Linked DNA regions of Homo sapiens: regions 2, 3, 4 and 5 are each linked to region 1. Evidence: promoter capture Hi-C in 16 types of primary human blood cells and fetal thymus (Javierre and others, 2016). All regions are on one chromosome and are shown on one strand. The core of a region is centred on a gene start or on the middle of the fragment in contact, and the rest is flanking DNA. Distances in the headings are between cores, read along the strand shown. Region 1 holds the start of PEX13 (peroxisomal biogenesis factor 13). Region 2 has its middle 86 kb from the start of PAPOLG. Region 3 has its middle 67 kb from the start of PAPOLG. Region 4 has its middle 41 kb from the start of PAPOLG. Region 5 has its middle 23 kb from the start of PAPOLG.

Evidence for each region. Contacts are between HindIII fragments. The CHiCAGO score rates a contact against its expected background, and 5 or more counts as called.
Region 2: a fragment that was not itself captured here is called in contact with the fragment with the promoter of PEX13 in region 1 in 1 of 17 cell types (megakaryocytes); the score reaches 5.4 in megakaryocytes.
Region 3: a fragment that was not itself captured here is called in contact with the fragment with the promoter of PEX13 in region 1 in 1 of 17 cell types (total CD4 T cells); the score reaches 5.2 in total CD4 T cells.
Region 4: a contact is called between a fragment that was not itself captured here and the fragment with the promoter of PEX13 in region 1, in 13 of 17 cell types (total CD4 T cells, activated CD4 T cells, neutrophils and 10 more). The highest score is 12.6, in total CD4 T cells.
Region 5: a fragment that was not itself captured here is called in contact with the fragment with the promoter of PEX13 in region 1 in 2 of 17 cell types (activated CD4 T cells and total CD4 T cells); the score reaches 6.6 in activated CD4 T cells.

What each region holds. Positions count from the first base shown.
Region 1 is chr2:61,014,984-61,020,331 of GRCh38, forward strand. PEX13 (peroxisomal biogenesis factor 13) reads left to right here and starts at 2,737. Exons shown (of 4, transcript NM_002618.4): 1 at 2,737-2,868. The coding sequence starts at 2,777. It overlaps PUS10 (pseudouridine synthase 10), which reads right to left and starts at 3,272. Exons shown (of 18, transcript NM_144709.4): 1 at 3,025-3,272. RefSeq lists an enhancer at 3,144-3,193. The HindIII fragment of the contact is 15,520 bases long and covers 1-5,348 here.
Region 2 is chr2:60,667,514-60,672,861 of GRCh38, forward strand. No RefSeq gene overlaps it. Among named protein-coding and RNA genes, the nearest start is that of PAPOLG, 86 kb to the right of the region's middle. The HindIII fragment of the contact is 2,596 bases long and covers 1,392-3,987 here.
Region 3 is chr2:60,686,942-60,692,289 of GRCh38, forward strand. No RefSeq gene overlaps it. Among named protein-coding and RNA genes, the nearest start is that of PAPOLG, 67 kb to the right of the region's middle. The HindIII fragment of the contact is 1,928 bases long and covers 1,594-3,521 here.
Region 4 is chr2:60,712,106-60,717,453 of GRCh38, forward strand. No RefSeq gene overlaps it. Among named protein-coding and RNA genes, the nearest start is that of PAPOLG, 41 kb to the right of the region's middle. The HindIII fragment of the contact is 6,738 bases long and covers 1-4,707 here.
Region 5 is chr2:60,730,290-60,735,637 of GRCh38, forward strand. It overlaps the pseudogene ATP1B3P1. Among named protein-coding and RNA genes, the nearest start is that of PAPOLG, 23 kb to the right of the region's middle. The HindIII fragment of the contact is 3,072 bases long and covers 1,219-4,290 here.

The DNA of each region.
Region 1 (5,348 bases), core at 1,487-3,986:
TACTAAAAACAGATTGCCTCTGGCTGAATTCTAATTCAGGGGAATATGTGAGTCAGCAGAGGGAAGAAAATCAGGCTTGTATGGACACACCATACAAGCTGACAAGGTGACAACTTTGAAACACCAGAATTGAGAAACGCATAGTTAGGGTTGCCTAAGTAAATTTGGGCTCCAGGGTATTTTCAAGAAAGAAAACAGAATATGTGGAAAACAGCCTCTAAATAATGAAGATCTGGCCAGGCCCAGTGGCTCACGCCTGTAATCCCAGCACTTTGGGAGGCCGAGGCAGGCATTATCACTTGAGGTCTGGAGTTCAAGACCAGCCTGGCCAACATGGTAAAACTCCATCTCTACTAAAATACAAAAATTAGCCACGTGTGGAGGTGTGCACCTGTAATCCCTGCTACTCGGGAGGTTGAGGCAGGAGAATCACTTGAACCCAGTAGGTGGAGGTTGCAGTAAGCCCAGGACTTTGGGAGGCTGAGGCAGGAGGATCATGAGGTCAGGAGATCGAGACCATCCTGGCTAACACGATGAAATCCCATCTCTACTAAAAATACAAAAAATTAGCCATGCGTGGTGGCACGCACCTGTAGTCCCAGCTACTCAGGAGGCTGAGGCAGGAGAATCGCCCGAACCCAGGAGGCAGAGGTTGCAGAGAGCCAAAATCGTGCCACTGTACTCCAGTCTGGGCAACAGAGCGAGACTCCATCTCAATAAATAAATAAATAAGATCTGTGTGGTCAAGGTCAAGTCATTACTATTTACTAGTGATCTGGATCCCTTTTCCCAGCCCATTTAATCTACTTTGATGCAGAGAAGAGATCGGATGCTGTGAGGGGCGAATATAAGCATTTACAGTGCATCTCTGACTACATACACAGAGAAACTGTTTCTGTTTCACCTGTTACTCTAAGTTATTTTTTCTCCATTAGTTAAGGTCAAGAATTTTACTTAATTCAGAAGTAACATTTAACTCAAAAAGAGACAGAAGAAATACACCCTCTTCCAATAAATCAATAAGCACTTTAAAAGGACACTTAATGAAGATTTCCCTCGATACTTAAATAGCTATATTAAAATTTATTTTATTTTCCATGGCTAGAAGACAATGTTTATTTTTCCAGTAAGTTCACAAGAACAAAGGTATCATGCAAAGTAAATAAATGACACATTACAATCTCCTGGCTCTGAGAAGTTCCCAAACCTGATTGATGAGAATTACAAAACTTCCAGTCCTGAGTAATTTGAAGAGGTCTAAAAATAGACCCCAAAAAAGACCTCTTTTGAATGTGTGTTAATAAACGAGCTATGAATTTACAAACCTCTCAACATCATTTTCACCTACCAACAATTTATCAACTTCTCAAGAATGTTAACATTAAAAGGAGAAAATACGTTACGTCTTAAATTTGGTTTTTTCATCGTGAGATAATTAAATGCCAGGATTTCATAAGATATTAGAAATCGGTTGTCCATATTAGATTTATTATGTTTGAAAGCAAGCCCTGAGAAAGGCATTCCACAATGTAAGTTTTCCAGTGTTGGTTACCCTCAAGATGTTTGCTTTTCGTTTATGTGTTTGTTTTATAGAAATAACTCTGTAACAAGTTGCTACAAAGCCGCCTTTCATGTGTCAGGCTCCCTAGGAGGACTGAATCCCTCCTCCCCAAATCAAGGATAACTAGCCCAGTCTCTGGCTTACTGGAGGAGAGGAAGGACTTTATTTTCACCTCTTGGACGATTACAAAAACCAGTCATCGAAAACGAGAAAAGGGGCAGGGTATAAGAAAAACTAGCGAAATGACCAGACTGAGTCTCATATCCTAAGATCTTTTAAAACTCATTTCCCTACCGAAGGGTGTCATTCGTAACGCGGCGTGGGGCTGGGGGTGTGGATTTACGGAGAAAGAGGTGATCACACTTCACTGGGCTTCTGAAACATTCAGCTCTGGAATCTACTGTGGACTCTTGAAAAGTTCATCCCGAGATCTAACCTCAAGCCTCAGTTTTCGCCAAGCAAGCCCTTCCCCCTTCGGTCAGGTGCAACAAACTTCCCACTCACCCCTCCTTTGCTAACAAAGCCGCTCCAGCAGGAGAGAAACGAACTCTCTCCCGCCACACCTCTTTTGCACCCAGTCTGCACTCCTTCACCTCTTACCTACCCGCCTCACCTTCTCCCCAGACGCCGGAGCCTGAGATTTAACCCCTTCCGGCCCTCGAAGGGAAGAGGGAAGACTAAAGACAACGCACCTATTGCGTCTAGCAATTCTGTTCCCCGAGGAAACGTGCGTTTTAGAACAAAAGTACCAGCCCGCTCTCGCTAGGACTAAGTGAGCTTCTCCCTTCTTGTTTGTAGAGGAAATCCGAAAAACTGCCTGGTTTGCCACCTCACCCTACCTCCCCCACGAGCGAAGGAGTGCGTGCGGCTTTACTCCCAGCCCGACTGGTCCACTCCCAGAAAAGCCTCGGTGGGACTCCGACGTCTAGGGAGTTGTAGCCGCTACCAGAAATATCGATGAGCCTTTACCCTGAGGTTTAGAAAGGCAGCTCTTTCTGGGGCAAATACAAAGAGCGTGTTTCTTCCTACAAATTAGTGGCATCCTCCCGCTGTATGGATTCAGCTGGCAAAGTAACTCAAGCCTTGTCCTGACTGCAAGGGTGGGCGGGGTGGACGGCTCGGTGTTCTGCCCGTTGTGTCTTACGCTCCAGGTGCTGGTCTACGCGGGCCTGGACAGTCAGGGGTAGGAGCGGGAGCCGAGAGGAGGCGGAGGAGATGGCGTCCCAGCCGCCACCTCCCCCCAAACCCTGGGAGACCCGCCGAATTCCGGGAGCCGGACCGGGACCAGGACCGGGCCCCACTTTCCAGTGAGTGTGGGATTCTTCAGGCTGTGAGTTTAGTGGGCCCGAGCGGGGACTTGGCAGGAGGCGGTTGTAGCGGTTGTTAGTGGAGGTATTCCCTTCCCCCCTTTAACCAATACCCAACCTTGGGGATAGGGGCCGAGGTGGAGCTGGGGCGCTTACCAGTGGGGACTTTAGTGTCTCACAGCTGTTTCTGACCCGGCAGCTCTAATCAGCAACGTTTTTTTCGGGAGCTCCTGGGCGTCTCTCTGGGTCTCTGTGCTTGAAAGAAAGGGGGGCGGCTTCCTACCTACCGCTTCTGTTTTCACTTTGACAGAATGGCTTCTCTATCTTTAAAGCGTAGACTTTGGTCTGTAGCAGTTGAGAGCGGCATTTGTCCAGCCACGGCATCGACAGGGAGCAAAGTCTCTCCTTAAAGGTGTTAACCTCTCGAGAAGTTGCTGAAAGCCGGAAAGGTTTTACGCAACAGGAACTCAAGCCCCGTACACTTTGCATTCTTTTCCAGCATAACTCAGCCAGTGTTTCGGATCGAGATTGGAGAAGCAACTTTAAAGCAGGAGTTCTAGATCTGAGGCCTATGGATGGACTTTGTGTGCAAAATAGTGTATTTTTCTGAGGCCTGTATTTTTTTTTTGTTTGGTTTTTAATCAGTATCAGTTGGTTTCTAGGACTTTAAAAAGGCTAAAACATGCAGAGTTGGGAGTGTTTCGTGGCCTCGTGTGGCTTTTGTTTGGTAGTGCTGGACATCTTAATTCAGATAGGTGTGATTCAAATGTCAAATCACCTACTATTGTAGGTTTTCCTAAGCGTAAAAACCCCAACATATTGGAATGTATTTCTGCTGTATTCTGAAATCTTTTATTTAAACACTAAAATGCTTTAACACAGTAACGACTTAGTTTAATAAGGATATATACATAACAAGTAATAAGTTTGATTAGGCTGGTAAGCCACGGTGACATTATCTGCTACCTTTTTTTTGAGTGGGTTCTTTTTTCCCCATTTAGGCTGCTTGTCGAATGAGAGAGGTTTTATTTTTTGCATCTGTTAAAGTTCTTTTTATGTAAAATTAACCATTTTCCCACTTTATCGTGAAATATTTTAAACACAGAGACCAGTAGAGAGTAAGATAATACCTATATATTCACTACTCAACTTTAAACAGTGTTAACATTTGCCAGACTTATGTCGAATTTTTCAAAATAAAAGACGGCTAAACTCTCCCATTCTTCTTTATAGTGGTGACTATTGTCCTTATTTGGTGTTTCGCATACCCAGTAATGTTTTTATATTTTAGTACTTAGGTTTGTGCTATTTATATGCATTTTATATCTAAAACTTAACAATGTAACAATAATATATATTTTATATCTAATTACATGTTACTATTTATATATTATTTTTTGTATCTGTTTTTGTTTTTTCTGTTGCCCAATTTTCTATTGGCTTTATCTTTGCTTACCAATTTGTAAGAGTATTGTTAAACTAATCCTTTTTTGTTACTACATTTTGCTAATATTTTTCACTGTGTGGCTTCTCCTCTTTATATTTATGTTCAATTTTTTGTACAGATGTTTTTGATTTTAATACAGCCAAAATTGTCATATTTTATTGTTTATGCTTTTTGTCTTGGTTAAGAAATCCTGTCTACCTAGATCAGGACAGTTTTTCTGTATGTTTTCTTTTAAATCTTCCGGTTTTTTCATTTGCATTTAATCCACATGGAACTGACTTTGTATAAAAATCTAATTTTTTTTTCCATATAGGTAACTAATTGTCGCAGCACCATTTATTGAGTAGTCTATTCTTAGTTTTTAATGCCATCTATGTCATATCAAGGTTTCCTAAATATGTAGTTCTGTTTTGGGCATTTTCTGACTTTCTACTAGCACCACACTATCTTAATTACAGAATTTTATAAGTCTTGATATGTAGTATGTCAAGAGTTTCCACACATTGCTGTTCTTTGTAATTGCGCTCTTTACACTTAGTCCTTTATAAAAAGACTTACTGGGATTTTTATTGGAACTGAGCTGAATTTATGGATCAAGTAAGTTTTTATTCCATGAATATTGTATAAGCTACAATTGGTGGGAATTTATCTTTTTGCCTTAAATATCTTATAATTATCCACTTTGGGAGACTGGGCGGGCAGATCACGAGGTCAGGAGATCGAGACCATCCTGGCTAACTCGGAGAAACCCCGTCTCTACTAAAAATACAAAAAAACATTAGCTGGGTGCGGTGGCGGGCACCTGTAGTCCCAGCTAATCAGGAGGCTGAGGCAGGAGAATGGCGTGAACCCACGAGGCGGAGCTTGCAGTGAGCCAAGATCACGCCACTGCACTGCAGCCTGGGCAACAGAGGGAGACTCCATCTCAAACAACAACAACAACAAAAAACTTATAATTACCTCCATGAAATTTTTTTCCATATTTTATTTTTTATTCCTAGATTATTTTTGCTGTAGTAGTTGCAAATGGGCT
Region 2 (5,348 bases), core at 1,440-3,939, 350 kb before region 1:
GCACTTTGGGAGGCTGAGGTAGGCAGATCACCTGAGGTCAGGAGTTTGAGACCAGCTTGGCCAACATGGTGAAACCCCATCTCTACTAAAAATACAAAAAAATGGCTGGGCATGATGGTGGGTGCCTGTAATCCCAGCTACTTGGGAGGCTGAGGCAGGAGAATCGCTTGAACCTGGGAGGTGGAGGTTGCAGAGACCCAAGATCATGTGATTACACTCCAGCCTGGACAACAAGAACAAAACTCTGTCTCAAAAAAAAAAAAAAAAGTCATGAATGAGTGAAAGATCCATTCAAAGAGTAGGATAGGCTGATGGGTTTCATGGAACAGAGACTGAAAAGTTCATTGATAACATTTCATATTCCACATTCTATAACCTTATTAAATTTTGATGTAGTATCAAATAAGTGCACCCACAATTACACAAAAAAACTATTTGAATTCTTCCTTTCCCAATTTTATTTTATTATTATTATTTTTTTTTTTTTTTGAGATGGAGTTTTGCTCTTGTCACCCAGGCTGGAGTGCAGTGATGCAATCTCGACTCACCACAACTTCCACCTTCTGGGTTCAAGCGATTCTCCTGCCTCAGCTTCCCAAGTGGCTAGGATTACAAGTGCCCACCACCACGCCCAGCTAATTTTTTTTTAGTAGAGATGGGGTTTTGCCATGTTGGCTAGGCTGGTCTCAAACTCCTGACCTCAGGTGATCCACCCACCTTGGCCTCCCAAAGTGCTGGGATTACAGGCATGAGCCACCATGCCCAGTCCCTTTCCCAATTTTATAGCTCTATAAAGCTGGATTTTCTTCATATACTTCAGCAAAACATCTCACAAGAGATTAAAAGCAGAAACAGATACGAGAATCTGGATGCCTTTTACAAAATGAGACATTAAAGATATTTGCAAACATATAAAACAATACCATTCTTCTCAATTTTATTTTTGAAAATAGTTACTTTTTGAAAAAAGTTATTTATATTAACATGTATTGTGGGGTTTTTTCGTTTGTTTGTTTGAGATGGAGTCTCGCTTTGTCACCCAGGATGGAGTGCAGTGGCTCGATCTTGGCTCACTGCAAGTTCCGCCTCCTAGGTTCATGCCATTTTCCTGCCTCAGCCTCCTGAGTAGCTGGGACTACAGGTGCCTGCCACCAGGCCCGGCTAATTTTTTGTATTTTTGGTAGAGACGGGGTTTCACCGCGTTAGCCAGGATGGTCTCTATCTCCTGACCTCGTGATCCGCCCATCTTGGCCTCCCAAAATGCTGGGATTACAGGCATGAGCCACCATGCCCGGCCACATCGTGTTTTTTTAAAAATTAATTAACATTTTTATGTATCCTTTATTGTGTCTAATATGATAAATAACAATGGAATAATTCACATAGATTAAAGCTTCTTTGAGTCTTCAATAATCTTTAAGAGTCCTGAGAACAAAAAGTTTGAGAACTCCTGATCTAGTTCAACATTTACCAAGAGTATTCTGGAAGTTAATGTTTTCTTTCCAAAAAAGGATTCTAAAGCCAAAATAAGTTTGAAAATTCCTTTGTTTAAAAAAATGTTATATATAGGCCAGGCAGGGTGGCTCACACCTGTAATCCCAGAACTTTGGGAGGCCAAGACGAGAGGATCACTTGAAGCCAAGAGTTCGAGACCAACCTGGTCAAGAGAGTGAGACCCCCAGGAGTTCGAGACTAGCAGCGCCAACGTGGCAAAACCATGTCTTTACTAAAAATGCAAAAAAATTAGCCAGGTGTGGTGGCGGGCACCTGTAATCCCAGCTACTCGGGAGGCTGAGGCAGGAGATTCGCTTGAATCTGGGAGGCAGAAGTTACAGTGAGCCAAGATCACGCCACTGCACTCCAGCCTGGGCAACAGAACAAGACTCCATTTCAAAAAAAAAAAAAGAAAAAAGATAGTGAGACCTCATATCATTAAAAAAATGAAGAAGAAGAAAAATGTTATATATATGTGTGTGTGTGTGTGTGTGTTCTATATACACACACACGCAACTGCACTTATTTGCTTCAAGACTCTGAGCCTATTATGTGCTAATGGACATTGTGATGCCCTACTGCGAGATGATGGCATGTAGATTTCCCCAAATGTACCTGACCTTTAGTTCTTCATTCATGGAATACCTATTAACATTTTAAAGACTAGTTTTTCAGCCAGGTGCAGTGGCTCACGCCTGTAATCCCAGCACTTTGGGAGGCCGAGGCAGGCAGATCACGAGGTCATGAGTTCGAGGCCAGCCTGGCCAACATAGTGAAACCCCGTCTCTACAAAAAATACAAAAATTACCCAGGTGTGATGGCACGTGCCTATAGTCCCAGCTATTCGGGAGGCTGAGGCAGGAGAATCGCTTGAACCCGGGAGGCGGAGGTTGCAGGGAGCTGAGATGGTGCCATTGCACTCCAGACTGGGTGACAGAGTGAGACTCCATCTCAAAAAAAAAAAAAAAAAAGACTAGCTTTTCTTGGACTGCATTTTGAGAAATGCTGATCTAGTACTACCTCCTCATTTTGCAGGGGAAACTGAGTCACAGAGAACTCTCAGAGAAATAGCGCCATAAATTATACTACTAATTGGTGGCTATACAGAGACTAGGAGTCAGGTGTTCAGACTGCCAGTCTAGCCGGACATGGTGGTCCCAGCTACTCGGGAGGCTGACGTCAGAGGATTACTTGAGCCTGGGAGGCAGAGGTTGCAGTAAGCCCAGATCAAGCCACTGCACTCCAGCCTGGGTAACAAAGTAAGATCCTATCAAAAAAAAAAAAAAAAAAGAAGGCAATAAGGGAAGGAAGGGAGGGAGGGAACAAAGAGACTATAGGCCGAGCATAGTGGCTCACCCCTGTAATCTCAGCACTTTGGGAGGCCAAGGCAGGCAGATTACCTGAGGTCAGGAGTTCGAGACCAGCCTGGCCAAAATGGCAAAACCCCATCTCTACTAAAAATATAAAAATTTGCCAGGCGTGGTGGGGCATGCCTGTAATCCCAGCTACTCAGGAGGCTGAGGCACAAGGATTGCTTGAACCTGGGAGGTGGAGGTTGGCGTGAGCCAAGATCACGCCACTGCACTCCAGCCTGGGCCACAGAGTGAGACTCTGTCTCAAAACAAAACAAAACAAAAACAGACTGCCAATCTAGCATTCTCTCATTCATTAGAACCTGGAAGCCTCCCCCATCCCCATCCTCACTGAAAGGGATTACAGCCCAAATTTCAGTTTATTTTCACCATCCAGGGCTTCTAATCTGTTACCTTTGAGAGATAATCCTATAAAATGCGGCAGAATGTAGATTCCAAAACCTGCAGAGATTACATTTTATGGGAGGGGAATTATCTCTGTGATCCAATTAACACAGCAAGCGACAGGGGAAAAACATAGGCTTTAGATTAGTGTTGGGGGGAGGAATCAGGACATTCTGCAAGTTAATTCATATTAACAGGTTCAAAAACCTCTGAAGTACATTTATAATTTCCTAAATCCTAATCATTAATCTGCATTGTGAACTGATAGCCTTTGGAAAGAATATTACAACTATGAATCATATGTTTCTTGTTTTGTTTTGTTTGAGACAGTTTCACTCTTGTTGCCCAGGCTGGAGTGCGGTGGCTCCATCTCGGCTCACTGCAATCTCCGCCTAACAGATTCAAGCGATTCTCCTGCCTCAGCCTGCCGAGTAGCTGGGATTACAGGCTCCCGCCACCATGCCCGGCTAATTTTTTTGTAATTTTAGTGGAGACGGAGTTTCATCTCGTTGGCCAGGCTGGTCTCAAACTCCTGACCTCAGGTGATCCACTTGCCTCAGCCTCCCGAAGTGTTGGGATTACAGGCGTGAGCCACCGTGCCCCGCCAAATCAAATGTTTTTAATGTTTGCAATTTTCTTTATGAATGTCCTAGTTTCCTTCGAAAGTTGAGTACATTTCTCCTCTCAAATGATGAGTTTATAATTCACATTTCCCTCTTCATCTTGGCTACCAGGAAGCTTTGAATCAGGTTAAACACACATCAAGATAATCAAATCAACATTTGGCAGGTGATTCCCAAATTCCTAGGTGTGGGAATTTATTTATGTCATATAGATTAGCTAAATAAACCTTCCCCTCTCAGTGGGTCACTTTTGTCATCTGTTGAGCCAAAATGAAATGGTCACTATCAAATTCCCTTTACAATCTTCCCAGGTCTCCAGGCAACTTCCTGTCCAAGTTCATGGTCGTAGCTGCTGAGAATCAAGGTGTCCATCAGACGGTTACTCTGCCTTCCCTTTCAGTATCTCCTATGCTAATATGATCAATAATTATGCAGAGGGCAATAATATTAAACTGCTTTTACCCCCTGAAGGAAATGCTTATGTGCTCAGGATTGCCTGCATTTTCTGAGTATATTCCAAAATCTCTGAAGATTTTATTCATGCAAGTTAAGTGTGACCTTCAACTAAACTCAAATCTATAATTTAAAGTGGCCTCTTTGACTCAAAATCCTCTCCATTTCAATGCCAAATGGATCATCAGCTGCTCTCCAAGTAATACTCGCTCCAGAGGAAGGTTCCAGCTACTGATCGACACACATTTTTGCATTTCTACTCACAGACTTAAGTTCTGCTCTCCAATATGTGACTGTAGCTTAATTGACGGAGGAATGCAAAAAGAGATTTGGAGGCGTCTGACTACTGTCGACTCACTGACTTCCCTCAGAGAATTCTTTCACTTGTCTTTTAAATTTTCCTTTCTTGTCAAAATTGCAGGTGCAGATAAATGCTGGAATCTTATTTCAATCAGAAAGTGCCAAGAACAAGAAAAGATGGAGAATTTTGATTGTCGTTGAGGACAGAGCCTCAAACAGCTGGAGGCCTTCCATTCTCTTTTAGCTTCCATCCATCTAAGAAAAAAAATGCACCAAGGATTTCACTCAATTTGTGCAGAAATATGAGGAAATTCACACTGAAATGAAGAACTGCATTCCCAAAATAGCGTTAACCTAGAACAGCACAGCACTGATGGGGGAATAAGAGACCTTGGATGTGGTGGGTCCAACCTTTGGTAAAAGGTCCAGGGGATGCCCCAGAAGGGATTCCTGTGTGACAGTTAGCTGATGATACATTGGCCTTTCCTTTCAGGGAAGCTTAGAGCCAGCTTAGGGATTCTCACCTCAGCCAGATTTTCTTTCTCCAGACAAATGTGTATTTCAGACAACTTCTAAGTAAATCTGGAAATGATTATGAAAAAGGAAAAATAAAATCCAACAAAAGCCTCTGACTTAGTTATCATTCAGAGTCTGTCCTCCAGGGTGGGTCTAACGATTTGTCCCAGGGTCCACCACAGAGCCTGCCCATGGACTTGCTGTG
Region 3 (5,348 bases), core at 1,308-3,807, 330 kb before region 1:
TTACAGTGAGCTATGATTGCACCACCGCACTCCAGCCTGGGCAACAGAGTGAGACTCCATCTCAAAAAATAAAAATAAAAAATCATGCCCGTAATCCCAGCAGTTTGGGAGGCAGAGGCGGGTGGATCACTTGAGGTCAGGAGTTCAAGACCAGCCTGGCCAACATGGCAAAACCACATCTCTACTAAAAATACAAAAATCAACTGGGTGTGGTGGCACACGTCTATAACCCCAGCTACTCAGGAGGCTGAAGCAGAGAATTGCTTGACTTGGGAAGGCAGAGTTTGCAGTGAGCTGAGATGGTGCCATTGCACTCCAGCCTGGGCAACACAGCAAGACTCCATTTTGAACTCCTCACCTCGGCTTCCCAAAGTGCTGGGATTACAGGTGTGAGACAACACACCCTGCCGAGACTCTGTCTCAAAAAAATAAAATCATAAAAGACAAAAATTTTTAAAAAAACTTTAAAAATAAAATAAAATAAAAATAAAAAGAGACAACAGGAGCCAGGCCAACAGCTAAGAGTGAGAAGGAGAGAGGTGATATTGAAAGGTTGATGACAGAGGAAAAAGCTATAAGGTAGTCATTTCAAAGGGGGAGAGCAACTTGACCATGGCAATAAGCTGGACAACTGGACGAGGCTGTGGGCTCCTGACATTCACCATCCTATGTGGGCTTTTTTCCGCCACAGCTAGCTGCTCAGGTGCAGGCAGGGAATGGAGGGTGAGGGGTGCTAAGTTCATCAGAGTTGGGGTTTTGCCAGGGAAGTGTGGATGGAAAGAGAGGCAGGTGAATTGAATGTCATATCAAGGTGTGATGTCAGGGATGAACCACGGAATCCAAACTGATCAAGGTGGGAAGAAGGGAGACAAGGAGGTCATAGAAAAGCGAGTAATTGAGGGGAGGTCGGTGGACTGGGGTCCCAGTGGGAAGAATGCTGGAGCATGTCAAGAGACTGAACATTTGGGAGTTTTCCTGGGATTTCCTCCATATCATGAAACACTTGTTCCCACTGTTCTTGCTGTAATTCCCTAGCATTGCCTCACTTACCATCTTTCTGTGGGTCCTCTTTATGTTAGGTTAGTAGCCTCTGCCACCTCAGATGTATGCCTGCCTCAACCTCTCTGATACATGAGATTCACAGCTTCCCCAGACCTACCTCACTTTCATTAGGGAGGAAACCTATTTTCTTTCCTCATTATCCATTTTATTTTTATTTTTCTTTAAGATGGAGTCTTGCTCTGTCTCCCAGGCTGGAGTGCAGTGGGGCAATCTCGGCTCACTGCAAACTCCGCCTCCCGGGTTCAAGCCATTCTCCTGTTTTGGCCTCCCAAGTAGCTGGGACTACAGGCGTGCACCATCGCGCCTGGCTAATTTTTGTATTTTTAGTAGAAACGGGGTTTCACCATGTTGGCCAGGCTGGTTTGAACTCCTGACCTCAGGTGATCCACCCGCCTCAGCCTCCCAAAGTGCTGGGATTACAGGCATCAGCCACCACACCTGGCCTCATTATCCATTTTCTTCCCCTCTCTTGGTTCTCTTTCTCCCTAACATCCACCTCTCTCTCCGTGGGCCACCCAGAGGCCTCATAGAAGCTTTCTTTCTCCAACCAACCCATTGACTCCTCTTCCTGTGGTGCCTCCCACACCACCATGGTTGTGTCCTAGTTTTTCTATTGACTTCTTTTCAAATTTTTGTTCATCAGATCAGAACGAGAAGTGGTTGCAGATAAAGTTTACAGGAGAAGGGTGTGACCACCATCCTCTTTACAGGAAATAACTGGCAGTCGTAGAGAATTAATCCAGTCTGCAGCTGGGCGCGGTGGCTCATGCCTGTAATCCCAGCACTTTGGGAGGCCAAGGCGGGCAGATCACGAGGTCAGGAGATCAAAACCATCCTGGCTAACATGGTGAAACCCTGTCTCTACTAAAAAAATACAAATATTACCTGGGTGTGGTGGTGAGCGCCTGTAGTCCCAGCTACTCGGGAGGCTGAGGCAGGAGAATGGCGTGAACCTAGGAGGCAGAGCTTGCAGTGAGCTGAGATCATGCCATTGCACTCCAGCCTGGGCGACAGAGCCAGACTCCATCTCAAAAAAAAAAAAAAAAAAAGAGAGAGAGAGAATTAATACACTCTGCAATACCTCATGTAGTCGGAGAGAGAGAGCATTGTCTGCGTGTATCTCCCATGGTAGTAGAATTCCCCAGGGCCTGGCTTGCTTGGCAAGGGGCTAATGCAGGGCAGTAGCCGACAATAGCTGGCTCTGGGTGTCCACTTAAAAGCCCCAAAACTCATAAGGAATCATGGGTTATTAATATGGCAAGAGGACGAGAGAGATTTGTTTCTGCACACACCTGAGAGCCCCCTGGCTTCAAGTTTTCCAAATTTGCTTTAAAATAATTGTTCTGTTTCCTATAGTAGCAACAGTTTTATGGTAGCAAAGATGGTTCACTGGATCTGCTATGGTTAGACTGTGTCCCCTCCAAAATGCAGCTGTTGAAACTTAATGGTGGATATGGTTTGGCTCTGTGTCCCCATCCAAATCTCATGTCAAATTGTAATTCCCCATGTTGGGGAGGGACCTGGTGGAAGGTGATTGAATCATGGGGGAGGATTTTCCCCTTGCTTTTCTTATGATAGTAAGTGAGTTCTCATGAGCTCTGGTTGTTTAAAAGTGTGTTGCACATCCCCCCCTTACTCTCTCTCTCCTGTTGCCATCTAAAGACATGCTTGCTTCCCCTTTTCCCTTCCACCATGATTGTAAGTTCCCTGAAGCCTCCCCAGCCATGCTGCCTATACAGCCTGTGAAACTGTGAGCCAATTAAACCTCTTTTCTTTATAAATTACCCAGGCTCAGGTAGTTCTTTATGGCAGTGTGAGAATGGACTAATACAATGGCCAATTGATAGTATTAAGAGGTGGGGCCTTTAAGAGGTGAGTAGGCCATGGGGGCTTCTTCCTCATGAATAGGATTAAGGCCTTTGTAAAGGAAGCCTCACACAGCATTCCTCCCCTCCATAGCATACAGCAACAAGGTGCCATCTTGGAATCAAAAAGCAGCCTTCACCAACCAAACCTGCTGGTACCTTGATCTTCGACTTCCCAGCTGTGAAAACTGTGAGAAATAAGTTTGTGTTCTTTATAAATTACCCAGTCTCAGGTATTGTGTTATAGCAACACAAACAGCTAAGACAACATCTCAAAATTTATTCTCTTCTTTTTAAATAATAGCACCCCTAATTTTTAACTCGACACATGGGTATCCAAAATAAAAACCAGACTCATTTGTAGCTAGGTGTGGCCATAAATCTAAATCCTGAGCACAATGGGTTGTGATTTCTGGTCATACCCTTAAAAGTATCTGGTCATACCTTAAAAGTCATCCCTTCACCCTTTTTCTTGCCTCTACCCCTCTGCTTGGAATGGCAAAGAAACAGGGCAGAAGGAGCCAAGGTCTCTGCATGATCTTGTGGATCAGAGCCACTATACCTGCCCTGGGCCATCTTCACAAGACAGAAATAAGCTTCCATCTGGTTCAGCACACTGTTACTTTGGGGCTCTGTTACCTTCACCTGAGATTGTATCCTAACTAATACCTTCATCCCTCTCTTTCTTTAGCTATGTAGGTGACAGACGTACAAAATGCCTAATGCATGCTTTGCTCTTTCCATCCTTCATTCCATTCTTGAATCCATCATTGATAAGATTGTTACTTTGGTGATTTTCTTCTTAATAATAGAGCATTTAAAATTTATATCAGGCTGAGCACGGTGGCTCACACCTGTAATCCCAACACTTTGGGTGGCCAAGGCAGGCAGATCACCTGAGGTCAGGAGTTTGAGACCAGCCTGGGCAACGTGGTGAAACCCCGTCTGTACTAAAAATACAAAAATTAGCCGGGCATAATGGCGGGCGCCTGTAATCCCAGCTACTCGGGAGGTTGAGGCAGGAGACTCACTTGAAACTGGGAGGTGGAGGTGCAGTAAGCCAAGATCTCACCATTGCACTCCAGCCTGGGCGACAGAACAAGACTCTGTCTCTTAAAAAAAAAAAAAAACATTATAACAAAGGTAAGTCTGAATCTTCTTTCTGAATTTCTGGAGTCTATAGTTGCAATGGCTAGATCCTATTCCCAAGCTTATGGTGATAAATGAATGTCTTTGGGTAAGTTAGATAGCAAATACTGGAGTAATTGAACAATAATTTTTGAATAGCAGTCTTTAAACAGAACTAGTAGTATTTAATTCTGAGTATTCCAATAGAAATGGTTTCCTTTACAGTATGCCATCTTGCCCTTTCCCCATTTGTATTGTTATTGCTAAACCACCCCCATTTTAATTATCATTTAATTATCTTCATCTACAGTTGAGTGCCCCCCTTCTGTTGGAAAGTTTATTTTATACAAACCAAACCTTGGGTAATTACCTATCAAAAGCAGATTTATCTAAATTCCCACTGAAACTAGATGAAGCAGTTCCCTTAAGTCATAAAATCATTCAAAATTAGATCCAGGAAAAAGGACGGCATTGAATTTGAATTTATAGAATACCAACAACATTATAAGTACCATCGGGAATCAATGCCTATTCATATTTCCTGCTAGGGGAGTATAGAGTCTTAGTTCTAAATTCATCCTCCAGAATGTAAATTGTGGCAGGTACTGTAGGTGGAATCATTCACCATCTTTTCCGAGCCCACATTATCTTGCCTTTATCTACTATACAGACTGGGGAGGCCAGGCACGATGGCTCACGCCTGTAATCCCAACAGTTTGGGAGGCTGAGGTGGATGCATCATGAGGTCAGGGGTTCACGACCAGCCTGCCCAACATAGTGAAACTCCGTCTCTACTAAAAATACAATAATTAGCCGGGTGTGGTGGCACACACCTGTAGTCCCAGCTACTTGGGAGGCTGAGGCAAGAGAATTGCTTGAACCCAGGAGGCAGAGGTTGCAGTGAGCAGAGACCACACCATTGCACTCCAGCATGGGCAACAGAGCAAGACTCCATCTCAAAGAAAAAAAAAAAAAGACTGGGGAAAAAATTAAAACCTCATTTTTCTCAGCCCCACCCCATTCCCTTGCAGTAAGGATACACCATGTGACACAGTTCCTGTCAGTGAGACACATGTACAAATCCCCTATTTAAAAACACAAACTAGCCGGCTGTGGTGGCTCACCTCTGTACTCCCAGCACTTTGGGAGGCCAACGTGCGTAGATCACTTGAGGACAGGAGTTCAAGACCAGCCTGGCCAATATGGTGAAACCTTGTCTCTACTAAAAATACAAAAATTAGCTGGGTGTAGTGGCATGCACTTGTAATCCCAGCTACTCAAAAGGCTGAGGCA
Region 4 (5,348 bases), core at 89-2,588, 300 kb before region 1:
GTAGAGACGGGGTTTCACCATGTTAGCCAGGATGGTCTCGATCTCCTCTCCTCGTGATTGGCCCACCTCAGCCTCCCAAAGTGCTGGGATTATAGGCGTGAAAGATTTGTTTTTGTTGCTATTATTATTTTACCTTTTTTTTTTTTTTTGAGACGCAGTTTCGCTCTTGTTGCCCAGGCTAGAGTGCAGTGGCTCGATTTTGGCTCACCGCAACCTCCACCTTCCAGGTTCAAGTGATTCTCCTGCCTCAGCCTCCCGAGTAGCTGGGATTACAGGCATGAGCCACCATGCCCAGCTAATTTTGTATTTTTAGTAGAGATGGGGTTTCTCCATGTTGGTCAGGCTGGTCTTGAACTCCCGACCTCAGGTGATCCACCCACCTTGGCCTCCCAAAGTGCTGGGATTACAGGCATGAGCCACCACGCCTGGCCTTTTTTTTTTTTTTTTTTTTTTTTAACCTTTGCCTAGATGTCAGAGGATGTATGAGAATGCCTGGGCGCTTAGGCAGAAGTTTGCTGCAGGGACAGGGCCCTCATGGAGAACCTCTGCTAGGGTAGCACAGAAGAGAAATGTGGGATCAGAGCCCCCACACAGAGTCCCTACTGGGGGCACCACCTAGTGGAGCTGTGAGAAGAAGGCCACCATCCTTCAGACCCCAGAATGTTAGATCTACTAACAGCTTGCACCGTGCACCTGGAAAAGCCGCAGACACTCAATGCCAGCCAGTGAAAGCCGCCAGGAGAGGGGCTATACCTGCAAAGCCACAGGGGTGGAGCTGTCCAAGGCCGTGGGAGCCCACCTCTTGCATCAGCATGACCTGGATAGGAGACATGGAGTCAAAGGAGATCATTTTGGAATTTTAAGATTTGACTGCCCTGCTGGATTTCAGACTTGCATGGGGCCTGTAGTCCCTCTGTTTTGACTAATTTACTCCATTCAAAATGGCTATATTTACCCAATTCGTGTACCCCCATTGTATCTAGGAAGTAACTAACTTGCTTTTGATTTTACAGCCTCATATGTGGAAGGGACTTGCCTTGTCTCAGATGAGATTTTGGACTGTGGACTTTTGAGTTAATGCTGAAATGAGTTAAGACTTTAGGGACAGCCGGGTGCGGTGGCTCAAGCCTGTAATCCCAGCACTTTGGGAGGCTGAGGCGGGCAGATCACGAGGTTAGGAAATCGAGACCAACCCAGCTAACATAGTGAAACCCCGTCTCTACTAAAAATACAAAAACTTAGCCAGATGTGGTGGTGGGCGCCTGTAGTCCCAGCTACTCAGGAGGCTGAGGCAGGAGAATGGCATGAACCCGGAAGGCAGAGCTTGCAGTGAGCTGAGATTGCGCCACTGCACTCCAGCCTGGGTGACAGAGCGAGACTCCATCTCAAAAAAAAAAAAAGACTTTAGGGGACTGTTGAGAAGGCATGATTGGTTTTGAAATGTGAAGGCAAGAGATTTGAGAGAGGCCAGGGGCAGAATGATATGGTTTGGCTCTCTCTCACACCCATAGCTCCCGTAATTCCCACATGTTGTGACAGGGACCTGGTGGGAGATAACTGAATCATGGGAGCAGGTCTTTCTTGCGCTGTTCTCATGATAGTGAATAAGTCTCATGAGATCTGACGGTTTTAAAAATGGGAGTTTCCCTGCACAAGCTCTCTCTCTCTCTTTGCCTGCTGCCATCCAAGTAAGATGTGACTTGGTCCTCCTTGCCTTCTGCCATGATTGTGAGGCCTCCCCAGCCATGTGGAACTATAAGTCCATTAAACCTCTTTCTTTTGTAAATTGCCCAGTCTCAGGTATGTCTTTATCAGCAGCGTGAAAACAGACTAGTACAGATCAGGAGTTCAAGCCCATTCTGGCCAACGTGGTGAAACCTTTTCTCTCCTAAAAAATACAAAAGTTAGCCAGGCATGGTGGTGCATGCCTGTAATCCCAGCTACTTGGGAGGTTGAGGCATGAGAATCACTTGAACCTAGGAGACAGAAGTTGCAGTGAGCCAAGATTGTATCACTGCACTCCAACCTGGATGACAGAGCAAGGCTCTGCTCAAAAAATAATATTGATAACAAATAATTAACAGATAGTCCCCTTGCCTCTCACAAGTTAGACAGAACTGCCCAGAATGCCCTGCTGAAGAGTTGTAACAGATAACCCTGTTCCTCCTTAACCTCTCTGTGCTTCATTTGCTCACCTGTAAAATAGTGATCATAGTAGTACCTATCTTGTGGCGATGTAGAGAGGATTAAATAAACTAATTAAGAGGGCCAGGCACAGTGGCTCATGCCTATAATCCCAGCACTTTGAGAGGCTGAGGTGGGCAGATCACTTGAAGTCAGGAGTTCGAAACCAGCTTGAACAACATGGTAAAACCCTGTCTCTACTAAAAAAAAAAAAAAAAATTGCCAGGCATTGTGGCAGGTGCCTGTAATCCCAGCTACTCGGTTGGCTGAGGCAGGAGAATCGCTTGCACCCAGGAGGCAGAGGTTGTAGTGAGCTGAGATCGCACCACTGCACTCCAGCCTGGGTGACAAAGCAAGACTCTGTCTCAAAAAAAAAAAAAAAAGAAGCCAATTAAGGTGGAAGCACTTAGAACAGTGTTTGCACATAGTAGGCCTTCAGAAGTGCCCTAGCCTATGGCTTGCAGTTATTAGGGAGATCAGCCTTTCAGCAGGGCATGGAAGAGAAGGCTTTCTACCAATCCCACCCAGAAACCGGAAACAATTTGCCAACAGGGTAGTTTCTCCTCACTATTAAAGACTGATGAAAGGGGGTATATTAGTCTGTTCTCATGCTGCTAATAAAGACATATGTGAGACTGGGTAATGTATAAAGGAAAGAGGCTTAATTGACTAACAGTTCAGGCGGCGCGGAGGCTCATGCCTGTAATCCCAACACTTTTGGAGGCCCAGGCAGGTGGATCACCTGAGGTCAGGAGTTCAAGACCAGCCAGAATAATATGGTGAAACCCTGTCTCTACTAAAAATACAAAAATTAGCCAGGCGTGGTGGCGGGCACCTGTAGTCCTGGCTACTCAGGAGGCTGAGACAGGAAAATTGCTTGAACCCAGGAGGCGGAGGTTGCAGATATCACACCACTGCACTCCAGCCTGGGTGACAGAGCGAGACTCCATCTCAAAATAATAATAATAGGCCGGGCATGGTGGCTCACACCTGTAATCCCAGCACTTTGGGAGGCCGAGGTGGGTGGATCACAAGGTCAGGAGTTTGAGACCAGCCTGGCTAACATGGTGAAACCACGTCTCTACTAAAAAAAAAAAAAAAAATACAAAAATTAGCCAGGTGTGGTGGCGCTTGCCTGTAATCCCAGCTACTCGGGAGGCTGAGGCAGGAGAATCGCCTGAACCCGGGAGGCGGAGTTGCAGTGAGCCAAGATGGCGCCATTGCGCTCCAGCCTGGGCGACAGAGCAAGACTCTGTTTCAAAAAGAAATAATAATAATAATAATAATAATAATAATAATAATCGACTCACAGTTCAGCATGACTGGCAAGGCCTCAGGAAATTTACAGTCATGGTGGAAGGGGAAGCAAATATGTCTTTCTTCACATGGCGGCAGGAGAGAAAACAAATGCCCAGCAAAGGGGGAAGCCCCTTATAAAAACACCAGATCTCGTGAGATCTAACTCACTATGGCAAGAACAGGATGGGAGAAACCACCCCCATGATTCAATTACCTCCCAATGGGTCCCTCCCATGACTCATGGAGATTATGGGAACTACAGTTCAAAATGAGATTTGGGTGGGGACACAGCCAAACCATATCAAGGGGTATCAGAAAGAAAGTGAGCCGGAGATCACCCACTGGCCTGCAACTGCATCCATCCATGTTTTATTTGCTCTGATTTCCATCACCTGCTGGCCCCCAAGGCATTTGAGTTTGTGACATATGATATCTTGCTAATCATCTTCATTATGGAATTCTCCACCACTTCAGTCAGAGAGTAATGGTTTAATAGCTGAGAGAGAGCAATCCTCTCAGACGTAAAGGAATAAAGAAAAGACTTTAGCATTTTCCATCACTGTATGATAAGTCACTTATTTCAAGGTTTCATACATGGAACCTCAAGGCTAAGTGGACAGGGGCCTGGGAGTGGATTTTAGGGGTTTTCATAGGTACTTTTGTTAGAGTAGACAGCGAGTCAGACATGAGTAGGGTAAGAGAGCCCCCCACACAAACACACTCACATACACCAGGAATGTCAGGCAACCATCAGGTGATGGTCAGGTGGTTGTTAAACAGTTTCTCTAAAATTGTTCACAGCCAATACCAGGGAAAGGCAGTCTTCCAATAGATAAAAACACCTGAAACTGGCGATCAGCAGCTTCCCGATAAGATCTTAGGAGTTGGGCAAGTAGGCTCAAGCACGAGCATTAAGAGTCAAAATGACGGAGTTTAACATACATGGCCACCTTCTAGGGACATTCGACTGGTAAGGGAAGAACACCTCAAGTGAGCATGCGCACAACTCCAGTAAACACACCATGCGTGCTCACCTCCCAAGTGCTAGCAGGCTTACCGCACATAAGCACAGCCCACCCCAAGGGAAGAATCAGGGGAGAAGGGATGCAAGCCCCCAGAAATATGCCAGCATATAAAACCCCAAGTCAAAAGGTCAAACCACACACTTGCCTTTGAAGTCGCCTGCTTCCCAGTGTACTTTCCTTTCCTTCATTCCTGCTCTAAAGCTTTTTAATAAACTTTCACTCCTGCTCTAAAATTTGCCTCGGTCTCTCCTTCTGCCTTACACCCTTCAGTTAAATTCTTTCTTCTAAGGAGGCAAGAATTGAGGTTGCTGCAGACTTGTACGGATTCGCCACTGGTAACATGTTTTGGTGCTGTGTGACTCGGATACTTTCCACCGCTAACATACTTCCCTTACTAGTCTAACATTCCTAGAGGAAGGTCATGTAGAAGGTCATATACCAGTTAAACTCCACCACTTTGTCTCTTTTTTTAATTATTTTTATTTATTTATTTATTTATTTTTATTTATTTTTTTTTTTTTGAGACAGTGTGTTGCTCTGTTGCCCAGGCTGGAGTGCAGTGGCAAAATCTCGGCTCACTGCAACCTCCACCTCCTGGGTTCAAGCAGTTCTCCTGCCTCAGCCTCCTGAGTAGCTGGGATTACAGGCATGCACCACCACACCCAGCTAATTTTTTTTGTATTTTTAGTAGAGACGGGGTTTCCCCATATTGGCCAGGCTGGTCTCGAACTCCCGACCTTGTGATCTGCACACCTCGGCCTCCGAAAGTGCTGGGATTACAGGTGTGAGCCACCGCATCCGGCCCATTTTGTCTCTTAATGAGCATGCTTGAACCCAATT
Region 5 (5,348 bases), core at 1,505-4,004, 280 kb before region 1:
TTCAAGACCAGCCTGGGCAACACAGGGAGACCCCATATCTACAAAAAATTATTTTTAAAAAAATCAGGCATGGTGGTTTATGCCTGTAATCTCAACACAGGCAGGCTGAGGTGGGAGGATTGCTTGAGCTCAGGAGTTTGAGACCACCCAGGGCAACAGAGTGAGACCCCATCTCCATAAAAAATAAATTTAAAACAATTAGCTGGTCATGGTGGCATGTGTCTGTAGTCTCAGCTACTTGGGAGGCTATGGCAGGAGGCTCACTTGAACCGAGGAACTAGAGGCTGCAGTAAGCTGTGTTCATGTCATTGCACTCCAGCCTGGGCAACAGAGTGAGATCTTGTTTCTAAATAAATAATAAAAAATCATAAAGACAAAAAGTGAAACTGACTGCTAGGGGTTAGCGGGAAGGGGCAATGGTAATTATTATTTAATGTGTGACCGAGTAAGACTGTCTTTAAAAAATAGAAGGAAAAAAAGCAATAGTAGTCTATGAAAAAACTAATTCAAGGTACAAATAGATCAGAATAGTAGTTGAGGTTTGGAATTATCATCTGGGAGGGGGACACAGCTACTGGGGAATGAAATATTCCATATCTGGATCTAGGTATTTAACATTCATTATGAATGTTTTCCATATGTTAAAATGCCATACATTTAAGATTTGTACATTTTCTCTGGTTATAATTCAATTAAAAAGTAAAAATTTTTTAAGAATTAGTTTTGCCTGCTTTTGAAGTATATGTAAACGGACTCATATTCGTGTGTTCTTTTGTGTCTTGCTCAACATTATGTTTGAGAAATTCATCCACGTGGTTGTATATAGTTGCAGTTCATTCATTTTTATTGCCAGTAGTGTTCAGTTCTATAAATATGCCACATTTTACTTATCCATTCTATTTTTGGGTTGTATCCAGTTTGGGGCTGATGTGAATTATATTCCTGTATATGTCTTTTGGTGCATCTGTGTGCATATTTCTGCAGGACATATATTTAGTAGTAAAATTGCTGTGTCTTAGGGTACGTGTGTGTTCAATTGAGTATACTAACAGCTTTCCAAAGTGATCATACCAATTTATTTATTTATTTTTTTTTACAGATGGGGTCTCACTCTGTCACCCAGGCTGGAGTACAGTGGCATGATCATAGCTTACTGCAACTTTGACCTCCTGGGTTCAAGCAGTCTGCGCACCTCAGCTGGGATCTCAGCTCACTGCAAGCTTGGCCTTTCGGGTTCAAATGATTCTTGTGCTTCAACCTCCCAAGTAGCTGGGATTACAGAAGTGCACCACCGCACCCAACTAATTTTTGTATTTTTAGTACAGATGAGGTTTCACCATGTTGGTCAGGCTAGTCTTGTACTTCTGACCTCAAGTATCCAGCTGCCTTGGCCTCCCAACGTGCTGGGATTACAGGCGTGTGCCACCCCACCTGGCCCCTCTGTTTATACATTTGAGTAAATTGCCGACATGATGCCACTTTACCTCTAAATAACTTTGTAAAAACAATGATATTCCCTTACATAATCACAATACAGTTATGAAAATCATGAAATTAACACTGACACAGTACTATAATCTGTGTACTTTATCTAAATTTCATTAGTTATCTCACTAATGTCCCCTGTAGCAAAATAAAAAAAGTTTTTTAAAACCTTGGTCCAGAATTCAATCCAGCATCCCATATTGCACTTAGTTGTCATGCGTCAAAAGAAAAACCAAGCCCAGTACAATGATGTGAGGTGGGAGGATTGCTTGAGGCCAGGAATTCAAGACCAGCCTGGGTGACAGGTGGAGACCCCATTTCTACAAAAAATAAAAACCGTTATTTTTTGGCCTTTAATCTCACAATCAACAGAGAAGACTTCTGAGACCCTTGGCCACCAAAATGTGTGGGGATTTTATCCCACTAAGCAATCCTTCAGTGGATTCTCCATCAGGGTGTCCCGTAATTCAGTTCAATTCTGAGCCATACATTGCATGCCTGTACCAAAATATCTCATGTACTCCAGAAATACATACACCTACTATGTACCCACAAGAACGATAAGTAAATGAATGAATGAGTGAATGAAAATTCTGACGCTATCCTTAGGCCACTGGTACTTCTGACTGGCTAGAAACCAGGGTTCCTGCGACCTCCTCCTTGGGTTTGACTAATTTGCTAAGACAGTTCACAGAATTCAGGGAAACACATTGCCAGTTTATTATAAAAGATATCATAGGCCGGGCGTGGCGGCTCATGCCTGTAGTCCTGTTACCGGTTGAGGGTGTCCAGGTTCTTGGCGTCTTGAACAAAGAATTGGACAAAATGCACAAACAAAGCAAGTAAAGAATGAAGCAACAAAAGCAGAGATTTCTCGAAAATGAAAGTATACTCCAGAGGGTGAAAGCAGGCCTGAGCATAGGGGGTCAAGAGCCTCGTTACAGAATTTTCTGGGGTTTAAATACCTTCTAGAGGTTTCCATTGGTTACTTGACGTACACCCTATGTAAATGAAGAGGATGAAGTAAAGTTACAAAATCATTTACTCACTGTACAGCCTATGTAAATGAGAAGGATATTTCCTGTCATAGATGAGATGTTTCCATTTGATTTAGTTCTCGGAAGTCCTTAGGTTCCCTGCCTCCAGGTCCTATTATCCTGCCTAATCCTAGCAGTTTGGGAGGCCAAGACAGGTGGATTACTGAGGCCAGGAGTTGGAGACCAGTCTGGCCAACGTGGTGAAATCCCTTCTCTACTAAAAATACAAAAATTTTTTGTACGTCCGCCATGAGACGGGCATGGTGGCTCACACCTGTAATCCCAGCTACTTGGAAGGCTGAGGTGGGAGAATCACTTGAACCTGGGATGTGGGGGTTGCAGTGAGCCAAGATCATGCCACTGCACTCCAGCCTAGGCAACAGATCAAGACTCTATCTTTTTTTTGAGACAGTTTCGCTCTTGTTGCCCAGGCTGGAGTGCAATGGTGCAATCTTGGCTCACCGCAACCTCTGCCTTCCAGGTTCAAGGCTTCCAAAGTGCTGGGATTACAGGCGTTTTGTGTGTTTTTTTTTTTTTTTTTTTTGAGACAGAGTCCTGCCCTGTCGCCCAGTCTGGGGTGCAATGGCGTGATGCAACCTCCACCTCCTGGGTTCAAGCGATTCTCCTGCCTCTGCCTCCTGAGTAGCTGAGATTACAGGTGCGCGCCACGATGCCCAGATAATTTTTGTATTTTTAGTAGAGATGGGTTTCACCATGTTGGCCAAGCTGGTCTCAAACTTCCGGGCTCAAGTGATATGCCCGCCTTGGCCTCCCAAAGTGCTGGGATTATAGGTGTCAGCCACCACGCCCTGCCTTTTTTTTTTTTTAAGACAGGGTCTTGGCCAGGCGTGGTGGCTCACACCTATAATCCCAGCACTTTGGGAGGCCAAGGCAGGCGAATCATGAGGTCAGGAGTTCGAGACCAGCCTGGCCAACATGGTGAAACCCCGTCTCTACTAAAAATACAAAAATTAGCTGGGCGTGGTGGCAGGCGCCTGTAATCCCAGCTACTCACGAGGCTGAGGCAGGAGAATTGCTTGAACTCATGAGGCAGAGGTTGCAGTGAGCTGAGATCGCACCACTGCACTCCAGCCAGGGCAACAGAGTGAGACTCCGTCTCAAAAAAAAAAAAAAAAAAAAAAGACAGGGTCTTTGCCAGGCACAGTGGCTTGGGCCTGTAATCCCAACACTTTGGGAGGCCAAGGTGGGTGGATTACATGAGGTCAGGAGTTCAAGGCCAGCCTAGCCACCATGGTGAAATCCCATCTGTAGAAAAAATACAAAAATTAGCCAGGCGTGGTGGTACGTACCTGTAATCCCAGCTACTTGGGAGGCAGAGGTTGCAGTGAGCCATGATCGTGCCTCTGCAATCCAGCCTGGGCAAGAGAGCAAGATTCTGTCTCAAAAAAAAAAAATCATAAGATACAGATGAACATCCAGATGAAGAGATGGATATGGCAAAGTACGGGGGGAGGGGTGTGGTGCTGCCACGACCTGTGGGTGTGCCTCCCTCCCAGCACCTCCAGGTGTTCAGCAGAAAGGAAATTCATCAAATCTTAGTGTTTAAATTTTTTTAAAAATATTTTTCAAATACATTTTTATTGTCTTTTTTTCCTTCCTCACATGCAGAACTTCTCCACATACCAGATTTCTTGCAGCTATAAAGTCACTTGATGTTGGCCGGGTACCATTTTATCCCTAAAACTCTGTTGACATCAAAATATGACAGTGTTATAGCCATAAAATATTTACATAGCACAGCATATTAAGCTTTAGACACTTGGCAATTAAACCACATAAAAAGAGGACAAGACCCCCATCCTACATGTTTGGAATCAGGTGTTCACCGGTCCCTATCTGGTGACTGTACACTGGTTCAAAGGGCAGCAGAGGCAAGAGGCAGTTACTTCAGAGGACATTGAACACTATGATCTGGAAGCACGTTATGATGTAACCCAGTGTCATGTACCACACACCTTTCTCCAAGGTGGTCTCATAATTCTAGAATGGAAGGTCCAGCTGATACAAAATGAAGACAGACAACACAAAATTTACTCTGTGGAGACATCCTACTCATACTATGCACATGCTGTGATTTTGAACATAACTCGTCCCAAAAACTTGTCACGATCATCCTGACTTTTAAGGTTGGCTGATCCATCAATCTTGCATTCAACTGTTACTTCTTTCCCAGTATCGTTAGGAGCAAAGCTGACCTGAACAGCAACCAATGGCTGTAGATACCCCACATGCAGTTTTTCCCCATAATATGGGAAATATTTTAAGTCTATAATTCCATTATGAGGATAAACTGCTACATTTGGTATATCTTCATTCTTCGAAACACAATCTATCCTTGGCACTCCTTCAGACTTTAATCCAATTATTCTGTTCATTTTCACAAGAATACAAGGGTTTCTTTGAGAATAGCCGAAATCAAGATCATTCATACCACGGCATGCTTGAAGTAACGAAATGGGAGATTGACAAGCAACATAAACTGGACCCTTCTGTTCAAAAAGTGCTCCATCAGGACAGACTGTGAGGTTTTTCTGTTCTTCTAAAGTATATGGTTTTAGAAACTTCTTAAGGTCTTCAGTGTACCCTGCATACGAAGTTAGATCAGACCTACTGAATGCATATTCCAATGCAGTGACTGGTTTTGGAAAAACCATCAGTCCTGGGTTAAGAATCTGGTCACGGTATTTTGGAACCTCATCGTTGAGTCTGAAGCATAACCCACATCGTGAATGAGAAGAGTGCAGCCAGGAACCCATAAAAAATTAGGTAGAAGAGCAAGATCAAACCCCAGCTCTTGGCGGTGCG